Regions from separate parts of the Homo sapiens genome. Here region 1 is linked to region 2. Evidence: promoter capture Hi-C in human tissues and cell types (Jung and others, 2019). All regions are on one chromosome and are shown on one strand. The core of a region is centred on a gene start or on the middle of the fragment in contact, and the rest is flanking DNA. Distances in the headings are between cores, read along the strand shown.

Region 1 (7,093 bases), core at 3,866-6,365, 56 kb after region 2:
TGATGGGTCAAGTGGAGTGAGAGATGTATTGAGATGTGTGTGCCTGTACATATGTGTGTGAGTGTGCACATATGTGAGCATGCATGTGCACACGTGTGTACACATGAATGTGTGAACATGGGTGTGCATGTGTGGGAATGTACATGAGTGAGCCTGTGTGCCTGCAAATGCATATGTGTGTTATGTGTGTAGATGTGTTACATGTGTGAGTGCTTACATGAACACACGTGTGTACATGTGTGTAGGTGAGCATGCATGTGGTATATATATGAGTATGTGCATGTGTGTGTACCTGTGTGAGTGTGCATCTGTATATGCATGTATGTGCCTTGTGTGTCCCCTGTGGGTCACCACCTTTGGTTGGGAACATTCTCTTGGAGACCTTTGGCAGCACAGAACACAGTCACCTCATGAGAAATGGGGACTGAGCTGACATGGTTTTGTGTCAGGGGAGTCTGTCCTCTTGACTTCCCATGTGTGCACGGATGTGTGCATTGCAGACACCTGCTGAAGCACAAAGCCCTGCACTCTGCTATTTGCTTCTCCCAGTGACCATGCAGGATTGTGGTGTTAACCCATGTCCAAGAGAAGGAGATTGAGGGTCAGGGAGAACCAGCTACTTCCTAGAGGCTTGGTGGCTCTGGACCTACCAGCCCCTAATGCGAGGCTCTCTGCCTGGGGTTAGCTGACGAGGTCTGTGAAGGGCAGATAGTAAATATTTCAGGCTCTGTGGGTTACGTATCGTTTCTGTTGCAGCAACTCAACTCTGCTCTTGGAGCACAGAAGCAGCCACAAATACGTAAACAAATGGGTGTGGCTGTACACCAGTAAAACTTTACAAAACAAGGAGTGGTCCACGGCCTCAGCGTGCCAGCCTCTGCTCTAAACCGTGACACCCAAACAGTGTTACGTTTAAAGACATCCATACGCCCTGTGTTTGCCATGTGCCTGCCCAGCAGCTGAGCAGTGGCTGATGTGTTGGCCTCTGGGCGGTGGAGTGTCCTGGGAGTCAGCCCCGTGGAGCCTCCAGGTTGTGCTGCTGGCCGCCTTTGTTCTTGGGGACGCTGTTTCTGGGTAGCAGGGCTGACAGTGCTGGCAGAGGTTAGGATATCATTACAGCTGCAAGATGCCTTCATGCAGCCCTTGAATTCTGCCAGCTGAGAGCTCCACGTGCCCACGAGGAGCACAGCAGAGAGAAATGAAGCAGCAGTCCCTGCAGCAGCAGAAATAGCATCACCCCCGATAACTACAACTCTGGTGTAAATTGGCTGCTCAGTCCCCAGCAACATTTGAGTTTGAGCTGAAGAGAATATTTTCTAGTTTCTAGGAACACATTATTGTAAATGGGATCCATTTGGGCATGAAGCCCTTGACCACATGGGAGCAGAGGGGAGCTCGATTAGGGATCTCACCAGCCAGGCAGGAAGGAGGACGGGGCCTTGCCCTAGTGCACTAATGCCACCACAGAGTGACAGCCTTGGGGTGCAGAGGGCTGGGCAGTGTGTGGGTGGGGGCACATATTGACCAGCAATTGTTTTATAGCACTAGAGGGCCAGAAGGAGATGCTCCAATGTGAGCAGATGCAGGCACAAGGGGCTGGACCTGTTTCTTCTCTTGACCCCTGCCCTCAAAATCAGGGTAGAACTTTAAGAGCCTTAGTTGAAAGTCTTGAGTTTGGCTGCACTATGCAACATGAGGAGACAAAGGCCAAGTTGTTGACCTCACAGAAGTCTTTGTAACATCCTGGCCAGCACATGATGTCATCTTCATTCTAAGAGTGAGCAGAATGAGGCTCATGTGGTAAAACAACATCCCCAGAGCCACAGCCAGGATTGGAAGCGGTGTCATTATGGCTCCGAAGCCTGTCTCCCTAGAAGAGAACTCCTACTCATCCTTGAAAGCCCCAAAGGCCATCTTTTCTCTAGGTCTCTGCCCACTGGGCCTCTGACCTTTCACCAGCCTTCTGTGGAACGGGTGCATCCTGTCCAGCTAACCCTACTCATTCATCACTGTGTGTGTGGCTGTTTTCCAGGGAGGGGTTGGCCTGTGGACAGCCCATACACATGTCTGAGTTGGCACTGAGTCCCAGCGCTGACCATGGAGCCTGGCACACAATGGCTATCCCCGCCTGTTTAAGTGGGACAGTGCCATGCCAGTGTGTCCTCTCCGATGGATTCTAGACTCCTTGGCCTGTTACCTGAAGCTGGGGGACCTCTGATGGCGCCCACATATGAGAATGGCCAGAGGAGGGGCTGGGGTGGCCTACAACAGGCACTTTTTGGCCAGCAGGAGCCTCATTTGGGGAAGCTGAGTTGGGCTGGGAGCAGGGTCAGTACCTGGGACAGCTGGCTTTGGGTTTCCTTAGGGCTCAACTATCTGTGCATGATGGCTCTGAAGAGCAGGGGCCACTTCTTACCCTCCCCATAGCTGTAAACAGGCTCCAGAATCCACTCGTGGGGAGATGCATCTGCAGAGCAAGCACAAGTCTGACTGGCTGTCACCAGGTGGTAGTGAGTGTCCTGTGGGGTTGGAGGGAGGATACCAAGCTCCCCAAGACCCCCGGCGCCCACTTCGCATATGCACAGCCATGGCTGAGCATGAGGCTGCCCCTGGCAGGCTCCTGGTGGGGAGGTTCTTTGCTATTTCTCAGCACATGATTGAGAAGCAATTGTCATGTCACCTGGGACACCTTAAGGTGGATTCTTAGGCCAGATCCAGAACCACTCATCAGAGTCTTAGGGATAAGGAATCTGCATTTTGCTAACTGCCCTGGATTTTGCAGGCCAGAGGCTGAGAGCCACTCTCTAAAGCTTGTGCTCGTATACAGGCCACTAGGCCTCAGAGGTGGGTCTCTTGGCATTCTCCACTCTGACCCCATGGGTTTTCCTCACACCCCAACCTTCCAGCCAAGTGAGCCTCTCGCTTTCCCTGCCTGAAGACCTCGGTTTCCGCCATCCATCTCCATGCTCCTGCCCATGCTCTAGCCCCTCCAGACCCCTGCACAGTTTGTAATGGACAGAATGGAAACACATCTTTCTTCACACAGCAGGGAAAGTGTTTCCCTGTCCTGGGATCCTTGCAGAGTGACCTGCCCAGACTCTATCAGGGGTGGAGGGTGAGCGGTTTCTGGAGGAAGGGGAACATGGGGAGTATATGAGGAGGCACCCCTGCCCTTCCCCAAGGCAGGACATCCCATGGGCTGTGTTTTGGTGTCTTTAGGAAAATTATTAAGAAGAGTTCTCGAATATGTGTGGATGACTTTTTGAATACAAAGGGAATCTGTCAATTTTCCTAGGAAAGGTTTACATAATACTCTGTCTTCTGCAACCTGGCATGCTTCTTTCTTCCAACAAACTGCACCACGTGTGGCCTAACTAGTGCCTGCCTTCCGATAATGCGTGTGAGTTCTGTGGTTCAGTACCTCTGGGATATGTTACACCTCACCGGGATTTCTGCAGCAGCTCCTCATGGGGTGAGCATGAGGAGCTCTTCTTCCTGTTTCAAACCTTTCCTCAGCTTCCCACTGTCCTAGGTGGCACAGAGGGCTCCTTACTTTGAAGGTATGATTGACTGATAATGAGCTGCATATGTGTACGGTTCTGTTCATTTGGGCATATGTACACGTGTGAAGCCATCACCACAGTCAAGATGCTGAGCATATCTTCCAGTGTTTCCTAGACCCTTCGCAATCCCTGTCTCCTCCCACTTCTCATTTTACTCTCTCCCTGTGTCCAGGCAACTACTAATTTGCTTTCTATCACTACAAATAAGTTGGAATTTTCTAGAACCTTATATATATGGAACAAAGCAATATGTACTCTACATTGTCTGGCTTTTTTTCACTGAGTGTAATTGTTTTGAGATTCAACCAACTTGTTGCATGTGTCAGTACTTCATTCCTTTTCATTGCTTAGAATCATCCCATTTTGTAGCTGTACTGAAGCTTGTCTGTTTATTCACTTTTTGATGGACATTTGGTTATTTCTAGGTGTTGGTTATTACAAATAAAGCTGCTATGAACATTCATGTACAAGTCTATGTATGGGTATTCAGTTCTCTTGGGTAAATACCTAGAAGTAGAATGGCTAAAAAACATGGCAGATGTATGCTTAACTTTTTTTTTTTTTTTTTTTTGAGACGGAGTCTCGCTCTGTCGCCCAGGCCGGACTGCGGACTGCAGTGGCGCAATCTCGGCTCACTGCAAGCTCCGCTTCCCGGGTTCACGCCATTCTCCTGCCTTAGCCTCCCTAGTAGCTGGGACTACAGGCGCCCGCCACTGCGCCCGGCTAATTTTTTTGTATTTTTAGTAGAGACGGGGTTTCACCTTGTTAGCCAGGATGGTCTTGATCTCCTGACCTCATGATCCACCCGCCTCGGCCTCCCAAAGTGCTGGGATTACAGGCGTGAGCCACCGCGCCCGGCCGTATGCTTAACTTTTTATGAAACAGACACAATGTTTTCAGAGTTATTGTAGCATTTCACATTCCCATCAGCAGTGTGTGAGTTCCAGTTGCTCCGCATCCTCATCAGCACTTGATGTGGTCAGTCTTTTTAATTTTAGTTTTTTTCTAATAGGCATGTGGTGCTATTTTATTGTGGTTTTAATTTCCTATTTTTTAATAGCTAATGTGGTTGAGCATCTTTTCATTGCTTATTGGCCACTCATTTATCTTTTTGGTGAAGTGTCTGTTGAAACCTTTTGACCACTTCTTTTTATTTGGGTTGACTTTTTTCTTTTTGTGAAGTTTTGAGCATTCTTTGTATGTTCTACATATAAGTCCTCCATCAAATATATGATCCCTGAGACTTTGGCTTGTTTGTTTATTCTCTTAACAGTGTTGTTTGAAGAGCAGAAAGTTTTAGTGTTTATGAAGTCCAGTTTATCAGTTTTTTTAATGCATTGTAACTTTTGTGTTGTATTTAAAAAGTCTTTGCCCAAAGTGCTATAACTGTGTGTTGGTTTCCCAAGGCTACTGTGGTGAAGTACCACAAACTTGGTGGCTTGAAACAACAGAAACTTCTTTGAGAGCAGTTTTGGAGGCCCGGATTCTGAAATCAGTATTGCTTGGCCAAAATCCAGATATTTGCAGAACGATACTCCATCCAGAAGGTTCCAAGGGAGAATTTGTCCCTTAACTCTTACATCTTCTGTTGGCTGTTGGAATTCCTTGGCTTGTGGGCCAGTCTCCCTCTGTCTTCATATTGCTGTGTGTTCCTCTTCATTCTTCTGTTTTCTCTCACTCTCTGCCTTTTCCCCCTCCCTCCCTCTCTCTTTCCCTTTTTCTGTATGTGTGTAAAATTTCCTCCTGCCTCATTTTTATAAGGATACAGGTCATTGTATTCAGGGCTTATCTGGATAATCCAAGATGGTTTCCCTATTTTAAGATCCTTAATTTATTACATTAGAAAGATCTTTGTTTTTGTTTGCTTTGTTTTGTGCTTTGCCATGTAAGTTTGCATTTACAGATTCCAGAAATTTGACTGTGGGTATCTCTGGGGGTCTCGGGAGGCATGGAATTTCAGCCTACCACACACTGAGAGCAGCCATCCAAAATCTCTCTGGATTTCAGTCTCCTTATTCAAAAATAAGACTAAATATGACTATTTTGGTTGGTTAGTGAGAAGTAAAATAATGGAAAGTAAAATAATAAAAGGTCTAAAGCATCTAGCACAGTGCCTAGGACAAGGTTTACACTCAATATATGGTAATTATCATTGTTACCAGGAAAGCTGTGATCAGTGGGGTCAGTGTTGTTAAAACTATGCAGGTATTTGAAAATCCAACTTGAAAATCATTGAGACCCTCTAACATAAAGATATGATAAACTCATTTTAAAAATCCCATCAAGTTCTTAGATAACCAGATAACATTTGATGCTAGAAATTGTCCATTTATCAGCTTTGTCTGTTTTAGAGAATTGTCAAATAACGTTGTCCTTATTAGCATTATAATGCAACCGGATTCCATTTTAACTCTGCAAATGTCCTCTCATTCTGCTCTGTGCAGGAAACTGCTAATCACTGGTACGGGCATATGTAAGGAGAATACAATCTGTGACTTAGTCTGCCTCACAATCCAGCAGGGGAACAAAAGTTTTCCTTAAATACTTGTTTTACAGAGCACATACTATATCACAAGTAAATTGAGTACTATTTCACTTATTCTCAATTTTATAAGCTCTGCATCCAAACTTGAAAACAAACATCATCCACAAAAAGTCAAAGCATTAGATGCAATTATCAGATTAATGTTTAATAAGGTGAAAACACAACATAGTGTATTCATAATTTTTGTGCGCATGTGAATTCTGTAGCTTTACAAATACACATTGTCCTAAGGAAAACTCACATGAGAAAGATACACAAATAATCACAATCATTTGTTTCATTTGCCAGCTATCTAAGCCAAGCCTGCATATCTCTGCATCTCAGAGTAAGGTTGCAAAGTAAATAAATATATACCTACAAAAAATAAAGTAAAAATCTTTGCCTAACCAAAGTCAGATTTTCTCCTGTGTTTTCTTCTAGGGGTTTTATAGTTTGAGGTTTTACATTTAAGTTTATAATACATTTGGAGTTAATTTTTGTGTATGTTTCGAGGTATGGGTCAAAGCTGGATTTTTTTTTGTTGTTATCTTGATATCTAATTGTCCCAGAATCATTTACTGAAAAGACTATCATTTCTCTACTGAATTCCCTTTCCAAAATGTTAGAAAAATCACTTGTCCATATGTAGTTGAATGTATTTCTGGATTTTAAAAAATTCTGTTCCATTAACCTATGTGTTTATCTTGACATCAAAAACCACACACCCTGGCCCTGTAGTTTTATAATGTATAGTCTGGAATCAGGTCCTGTGCTTTATCCAAGTTTATTGTTCTTTTTCAAAGTGATTTTTGGCTATTCTAGGTGCTTTGCTTTTCCATGTGAATTTTAGAATCAATTTGTCAGTTTCTGTAACAAAGGCTGGTGGAATTTTGTTTGGGATTTGTGTTGAATCTATGTTACCAATCTTCGGAGGATTAACATTTAAAAAATAGTCTTCTGATTCACGAACACTGTATGTTTATTTAGATTTATTTAGATATTCTTT
Region 2 (6,344 bases), core at 1,903-4,402:
CTGGCTTCTGGTAGTTCCTTGGCTTGTGGCAGCATCAATCCAATTTTCACTTGGCGTTCTCCCTGTGTGTCTGTGTGTCCACATTTTTTATAAGACACCAGTCATATTGGAGGAGAGGCCCACACTACTCCAATATAGCCTCATCTTAACTAATTACATCGGCAATGACCTTATTTCCAGATAAGGCCACATTATGAGGCAGGGATTAGGACTTCAGCATATAAATGGTGGGCAGAGGGGACCACAATTCAACTTTTGACACCCACTAAGAGGACATCTTGCAATCACTTTGTCGTATCTCAGATAATTTCCCTGTTATGCCTGGTGCAAACTGCCCATCTGAAGGCCTTCTTCTTCCAACCTGGGAAATGTGGAGACAGTATTAACATATTCACAGCTCAAGTCCACACCACTGACAATAACAATTTTCAATTCTTACCCCTCCCAGGGTTTAACAACACGAGTTGGAGGACCCCCAGATTCCCACCAGAATCTGGTCCTCTCTGTGCCTTGGGGCCAGCTCCAGAGCATGTCTAGGTCTCTGCTTCTTCATCAACAAAATGAGGGTGATAAAATCTGCCTTCCAAGATGCCATGGAGCATCAATGAGAACTACAGACATGAGAATGACATGTAAACCACACCACACCATGTATCCCTGGATACTTTATTAGGACTTCATATTAGGACAAGCATGTGTGACAGTAAGCAAAGGGTACTGCACCTATGACTGAACCTCTTTCCGTCCAAAGCCTAATCTGAATCCTTATAACCTCGTTTGAAAGCAGTTGCTGCCAATCTTGCCAATGATTTTCTTTTTTTTCTTAAAGAGACAGACTCTTATTAAAAGAGAAGTCACCCAGGCTGGAGTGTAAGATCATGGTTCACTGCAGCCTCAAACTCCTGGGCTCAAGTAATCCTCCCACTTTAGCCTCCCTTAAAACTCATTTGCCGCTGGGACTAAAGATATGTACCATCACTTTCAGCTAATTTTTAAATTTTTGTTGAGATGAGGCTTCCTTATGTTGCTCAGGCTGCTCTCATGTTCCTGGACTCAAGTGATCCCCCTGCCTTGGCCTCCCAAAGTGCGGAGATTACAGGCATGAGCCACTGCACCTGTCTGAATGTCATTTTTTGAGTGAGGACAAAGTTGAGAGCCAAAACAGGTAAAAGAAGGTGCCATTTATTTGTAAACTTTGCACCCAGATTAACTTTATCATACTTTTTCATTTTCATGTAGTTTGATCCTTTTTGGATATTATTCAGCTTTTCTTTAATAAATTGTTAGGATCCAAAAATATACCACACCAGTTAACAAGAAAATCTTCACTTCAATCTTAACACTTGAAAAGAAAAATCTTGCAGACTTTGCTCCTATTTGGGGATAAGCAGGGGACTAGTGGATAGAAGAAGGTGCTTTCTCAAGTCAGTGACAGAGGTTGGGCCATGCCATCTTTTCAGAGCCAGTGCTGCCCTCTGAGGGCTTCAGCTCAAAGAGGGGAGGAAGGCAAATGAACAGAAAATGAGGCTACAGAGTGGTGGGTATGAATTTTCACGGAAGACTGGGACTGGGGAGAAAGCAACGAGCTGTGCCAGAAGGAGCCAGAAAGGTTTCAGAAAGGATGTTCTGTTGGGGATGCTATTCCAGGAGGAGGGACCAGCTGTCATCAAGTGTCTGCTGGGGGCCTTTGGTGTGAGCTACTGGGGACATGGGATGGGAAAGTGCCCCTACTCTAGACAAAGCCTAGAGGTGTCATCATCTGCAACTATTAAGTTGAAGCATATGAAAGAGCTGACATGTGACAACTTTGGCCCTTTTACAAAAACGGCAATTTTGTATGGTTCAACCTGATACCAATTCCAGATAAAATGGAAATGCCTCAAATTCTAACCTTTGTTCCGTATAACAACACGTGGAATCCCTGAGAGTTAATGGAATCCCTGGGGCATTTCTAAAATAGACCAATGCCTGGGCGAGATCCCTTAAATCCTGGTTTCTGGGAGTGGGGCCTTCTGCAGGGGGCCTAGCCTCCTGGTCTCCATTATTTCATGGGATCCCAGTTCCTGGTCTATCCATATTGAGGGGACGAGAAGCAGCCGGGATAACGGAGGAGGCAGGGGTTCTTGCAGTGGCTACTCCTCTCTAGGCCTCCTGGAGGGAGCTGATCATGAGAGATCCTCACTGTAAGGGGGATGCAGGCAGCCCAGGGGCCGTCTGAGCACCAAATGACATCATGTACTTGAAGCACCAGCACAAAGTTGTCTCCCTCATAGTGAATGAATGTAAGCAGTGGAATTCGACTCGCGGGTTTTAACCCCCATGGGCCAGCGTCCTTCCCTCCCAATTGTCCTGCTAGAAGAAAACGTTTCGCTCTCTCTCGGGTATCCAGCTAATCGTTAAGGCAAACAGCAGCGCCCCTTTTCCTTTCATCTCTTGCCCCATTTCTGCACCTACAGCCTCACACCTTCTTCCCGGGACACAGCACTGCCAGGAGCCCATCCTGGTTCAGTTCAGTACCCAGGAGGAATCCCTCGGGCCGACTCCCAGGACTTTGTTTCTTGGACTTCACCACCGCCGCCTCCCCAGCACAGCTCCCGCAGCCCGCACCCGCCCACAGGGTCTCCGCGACCCTAGAGCTTAGGGAAGAATTGCCGAGGGGCGGGGGGTCCCTCATGCGCATGGAAGGGACGTACGCCCCAGGCCTCCACCTTCCTCCTGACCCCGGGGATTCTTGGACGTCGATTCTCCGTCTCGTAGGGGCGAGGGCCCTGGGTTCGCAGTCAGACGCGGGCCCCTCTCAAATCTAGTGGCCTGGTTTTATTGAGTGGGGGAAGGCACATATTTTCCAAGATTAACTGCCCCGCAACAGGGAATTTCGCAGGATTTCAGTATTTTCGACTCCCCAGGTGACGCCAAGAGGGTGGGTTCCACTGTGCACGGTGGGGAAACTGAGGCTCGGAGGGGACAAGGAAGGTACTCGAGGTCACGCGGCTCCTCCGGCGGGCGGGAACGCAGGACGCGGAGTTGGGGCGCGGGCTGTGCGCGCCCAGGTTCGCGGCTCCCGGGGCTCGGCTGTCGCAGCGCGGTCGCCGCCGAGGACCACGGTCGGGGCGCGGGCGGGCTCCAGTGCGCAGGCGCGGCGGGCGGGAGGGGACGCGCTCCGGGCGCGCGCGCGGGGCAGCCGGCGCCCCAACTCCGCCCGCCCCGCGCCCCGCGCCCCGGCGCCTCGCCGCCCGCCGCCCGCCCGCCCCGGCGCCGCCGCCCGCGCCCCGGCGCCCCGGGCCGGCGAGGGGCGCGCCCGCGGCCGCGGCCGCTGCATGGCGCTGAGATGGCGGGGGCGCCGCGCGGCGGAGGCGGCGGCGGAGGCGGCGCGGGCGAGCCCGGGGGCGCCGAGCGGGCGGCCGGGACAAGCCGCCGGCGCGGGCTCCGGGCGTGCGACGAGGAGTTCGCTTGCCCAGAGCTGGAGGCGCTGTTCCGCGGCTACACGCTGCGGCTGGAGCAGGCGGCCACGCTGAAGGCGCTGGCCGTTCTCAGCCTGCTGGCGGGCGCGCTGGCGCTGGCCGAGCTGCTGGGCGCGCCGGGGCCCGCGCCCGGCCTGGCCAAGGGCTCACACCCGGTGCACTGCGTCCTCTTCCTGGCGCTGCTCGTGGTAACCAACGTCCGGTCCCTGCAGGTGCCCCAGCTGCAGCAGGTCGGCCAGCTGGCGCTGCTCTTCAGCCTCACCTTCGCGCTGCTCTGCTGTCCTTTCGCGCTGGGCGGCCCCGCCCGGGGTTCCGCCGGGGCCGCTGGGGGGCCAGCGACCGCCGAACAAGGGGTTTGGCAGCTCCTTTTGGTCACCTTCGTGTCCTATGCCTTGCTGCCCGTGCGCAGCCTGCTGGCCATAGGCTTTGGGCTCGTGGTGGCTGCGTCGCACTTGCTGGTCACAGCCACCTTGGTCCCCGCCAAGCGCCCACGTCTCTGGAGGACGGTAAGTGCAGCCGCGCACCCCTCATCTGGTCTCGGACACACTTGCTGGGACGATGCTGGGAATGCCCGGAGTCGGGCGCGCTTTTTCCTATGCGGCGGGTGGGGACACTGAGGCTCCGAGTGGGGGTGTGTTCAAGGTCACTCCTACGAGTTGGGGACGCAGTCGGGGCTGGCACCCTCCGGCCAGGGCTCTCTTCAGAGTTACAATCCACGAAGCGCCCCTGGCGTGAAGTGTGGAGAGGGGAGACAGGTGTGGAGAGAGAAAGGTTTGGCCAAGGTCAGGGAGCTGATGAGCGGCCAGACGGCGGCCAGAGGGGTCCGCCGGTCTTTTGCCGCACCCATCCCCACAGAGGGACTGAAAGTGGGCGAGGAGAGCAGACCCCCAGGGCAAGCTCCAAGGCCGGCTCTGCGCGCAGCGCTGGGCTCTTCCCCTGCGCACCTAGAGCGCGTGCTGGGCTCGCCTCCCAACCCTGCGGACCCGAGGGTGGTATATGGGTGGTGGGAAAGGACTTCGGCTCTTCCAGCCTTGCTGGCCACCCTTCTGTGGACATGCCTCCGGCCCAGAAAGAGTGGGGTTTGCCAAGGTCAAACACAGTCTAGTCCCTGCCGCTGCCACTCGGCGGTTGCCCTGACCCTGCCTTTTCTGCGCCCGAACTTTGTCACTGTCTTCCCAGTCGGGCGGGCGAGATGGTTGCAAGGACGGGGACGCTGTCTGCCTCCCGCGGACTCTTCCTGGGCCCTGGAGGAGCCTGCTCTTCCAACTGCCCGGAGGTGGACGTGGACCAGAGGTCTTTGCCCCACGGCGGGGCTTTGAGAGCTTCCCCTTGTGCCCATCTCCAACGGGCCGCAGGGATGGGGCTGGGGAGTTGGGGGGTGGGGAGATTTGGAAGACCCTGAGGAGGGTTTTGTTTCTGCCTCTAGCTGCAGTTTAGCAGGGGGATGGTATGACTCAAATGGAGTGGGGGAGCCCATCTCACGAAAGGAAGCAGTGGTGGGAGCAAACTGGGGAGAGGTAAGGGGTCGGAGGGGAAGCTGAATCCAGAGAGATTAGGGAAGAATAACTGGGGGGCGGTGGTAAGGAGTCCCACAGCCCGGCCCCGGGGGACCAGCACCCAAGGATCTAAGGAGGCATCCTTAGACTGTGATGCCAGGGGCAGCACACAGTCAGAGGAGCCATGAGATGCTCAACCTGGCACAGGGATAGACACATCACTGGACTTGTGTCTTAGGGTCAGAGAGAGACCACCATGTGCTCAACCCGTGGGCAGGGGCGGGAGGGAAGAAGGCAGGAGTACATGGAGAATTGTCAAAGAGGGCGTCGGAGGAAGAGAGGAAGAGAGGTAGAGGTGAAGGGCAGAGGCACAAAAGGATGGCTAAAGGCTGAGGAAAGGGGAAAGGAGCCAGAGGACTTCATGTCCTGGAGGGGAAGGAGGCTCTTCCACAGCCTCCTGTGGGCAGCACGTGGGCCTTGCCTTATCAGTCTCAGGGGGCATTCCTGTATCTCCTACTGCCTCCACCCCCCATCTGTCTGTGTTTAGCCTGGGCCTCATGCTGGCCCCCACAGCCAGACCCGCAACCGCAAGACGGCCTCCCCAATCTGACCAGATGCCAGGGCAGCTTGGGAATAGGGAGGGGCTGAGCTTGGTCCCTGGGCAGGCCCAGGGATCCCAACCACACTGCATTCTCTCTTATTACACCAGGGAGTCAGCTGGTGTAATAAAAGGCTGCGTTATTGTCTTTCTCTTTTAAAATAAAGACATTTCCTATATAGCCTCTAGTCATTTCTTTTAGAGAATTAAAGATTAAAAAAGAGAGAGGGGAGAGTCTATAAAGGAGTTTCTGGACACAGGGAACTCTGCCTCTCCCCCTGGGATAAGATGAGCCCCTGTGACTGTCACTGTAGTGGGGAAGGAAGCCCATCCTGGGAGCAAGGATTCTTAGGGAGCAGACATCTGGGTTTCCCTGCTAGCTGTGACTCCCTGGGCAATCCAAAGCCTTCCCTCACTGAGCCTCAGGTTTCTCACCTGTGTAAAGGGCAGAATGGCCCCCTGCAGGGTTGTAGTGAAGGTAAACACTTCCTATTGGAAAAGCACATATTGGCCTTTTTAGAATGTTCTATTCAAGTCCACGTGTCTATACAGGTGGTAGTGATACTGACAAACACATGGGGATCAATGCAGGGAGACTTACAGTGGGGGGAGCAGGGCAGATGATTCCCAGGGATTCTGCTTTCCAATTAGAGAATTCCAGGAGCCTGTGAAATCTGTCCATAATGAGCTCTGCAGTTTGGTGCTTGAGATGGTGAAGAAGACAGCACACGCATTTACACAGCATTGATGTTTCTGCTGCTCTTCACTGCTTTACCATCCACTTTCTAT

The links. The method cuts DNA at HindIII sites, captures the fragments that hold promoters and counts their contacts. A contact is called where the count stands out against the background at its distance.
Region 1: a fragment that was not itself captured here is called in contact with the fragment with the promoter of ADCY1 in region 2 in 2 of the 25 tissues and cell types used here (heart right ventricle and stomach).

Annotation. Positions count from the first base shown.
Region 1 is chr7:45,625,396-45,632,488 of GRCh38, forward strand. The region is part of intron 4 of ADCY1 (adenylate cyclase 1); the gene reads left to right. Among named protein-coding and RNA genes, the nearest start is that of ADCY1, 55 kb to the left of the region's middle. The HindIII fragment of the contact is 3,478 bases long and covers 3,377-6,854 here.
Region 2 is chr7:45,571,216-45,577,559 of GRCh38, forward strand. ADCY1 (adenylate cyclase 1) reads left to right here and starts at 3,153. Exons shown (of 20, transcript NM_021116.4): 1 at 3,153-3,967. The coding sequence starts at 3,329. RefSeq lists an enhancer at 2,167-2,727 and a silencer at 3,539-3,638. The HindIII fragment of the contact is 21,542 bases long and covers 1-6,344 here.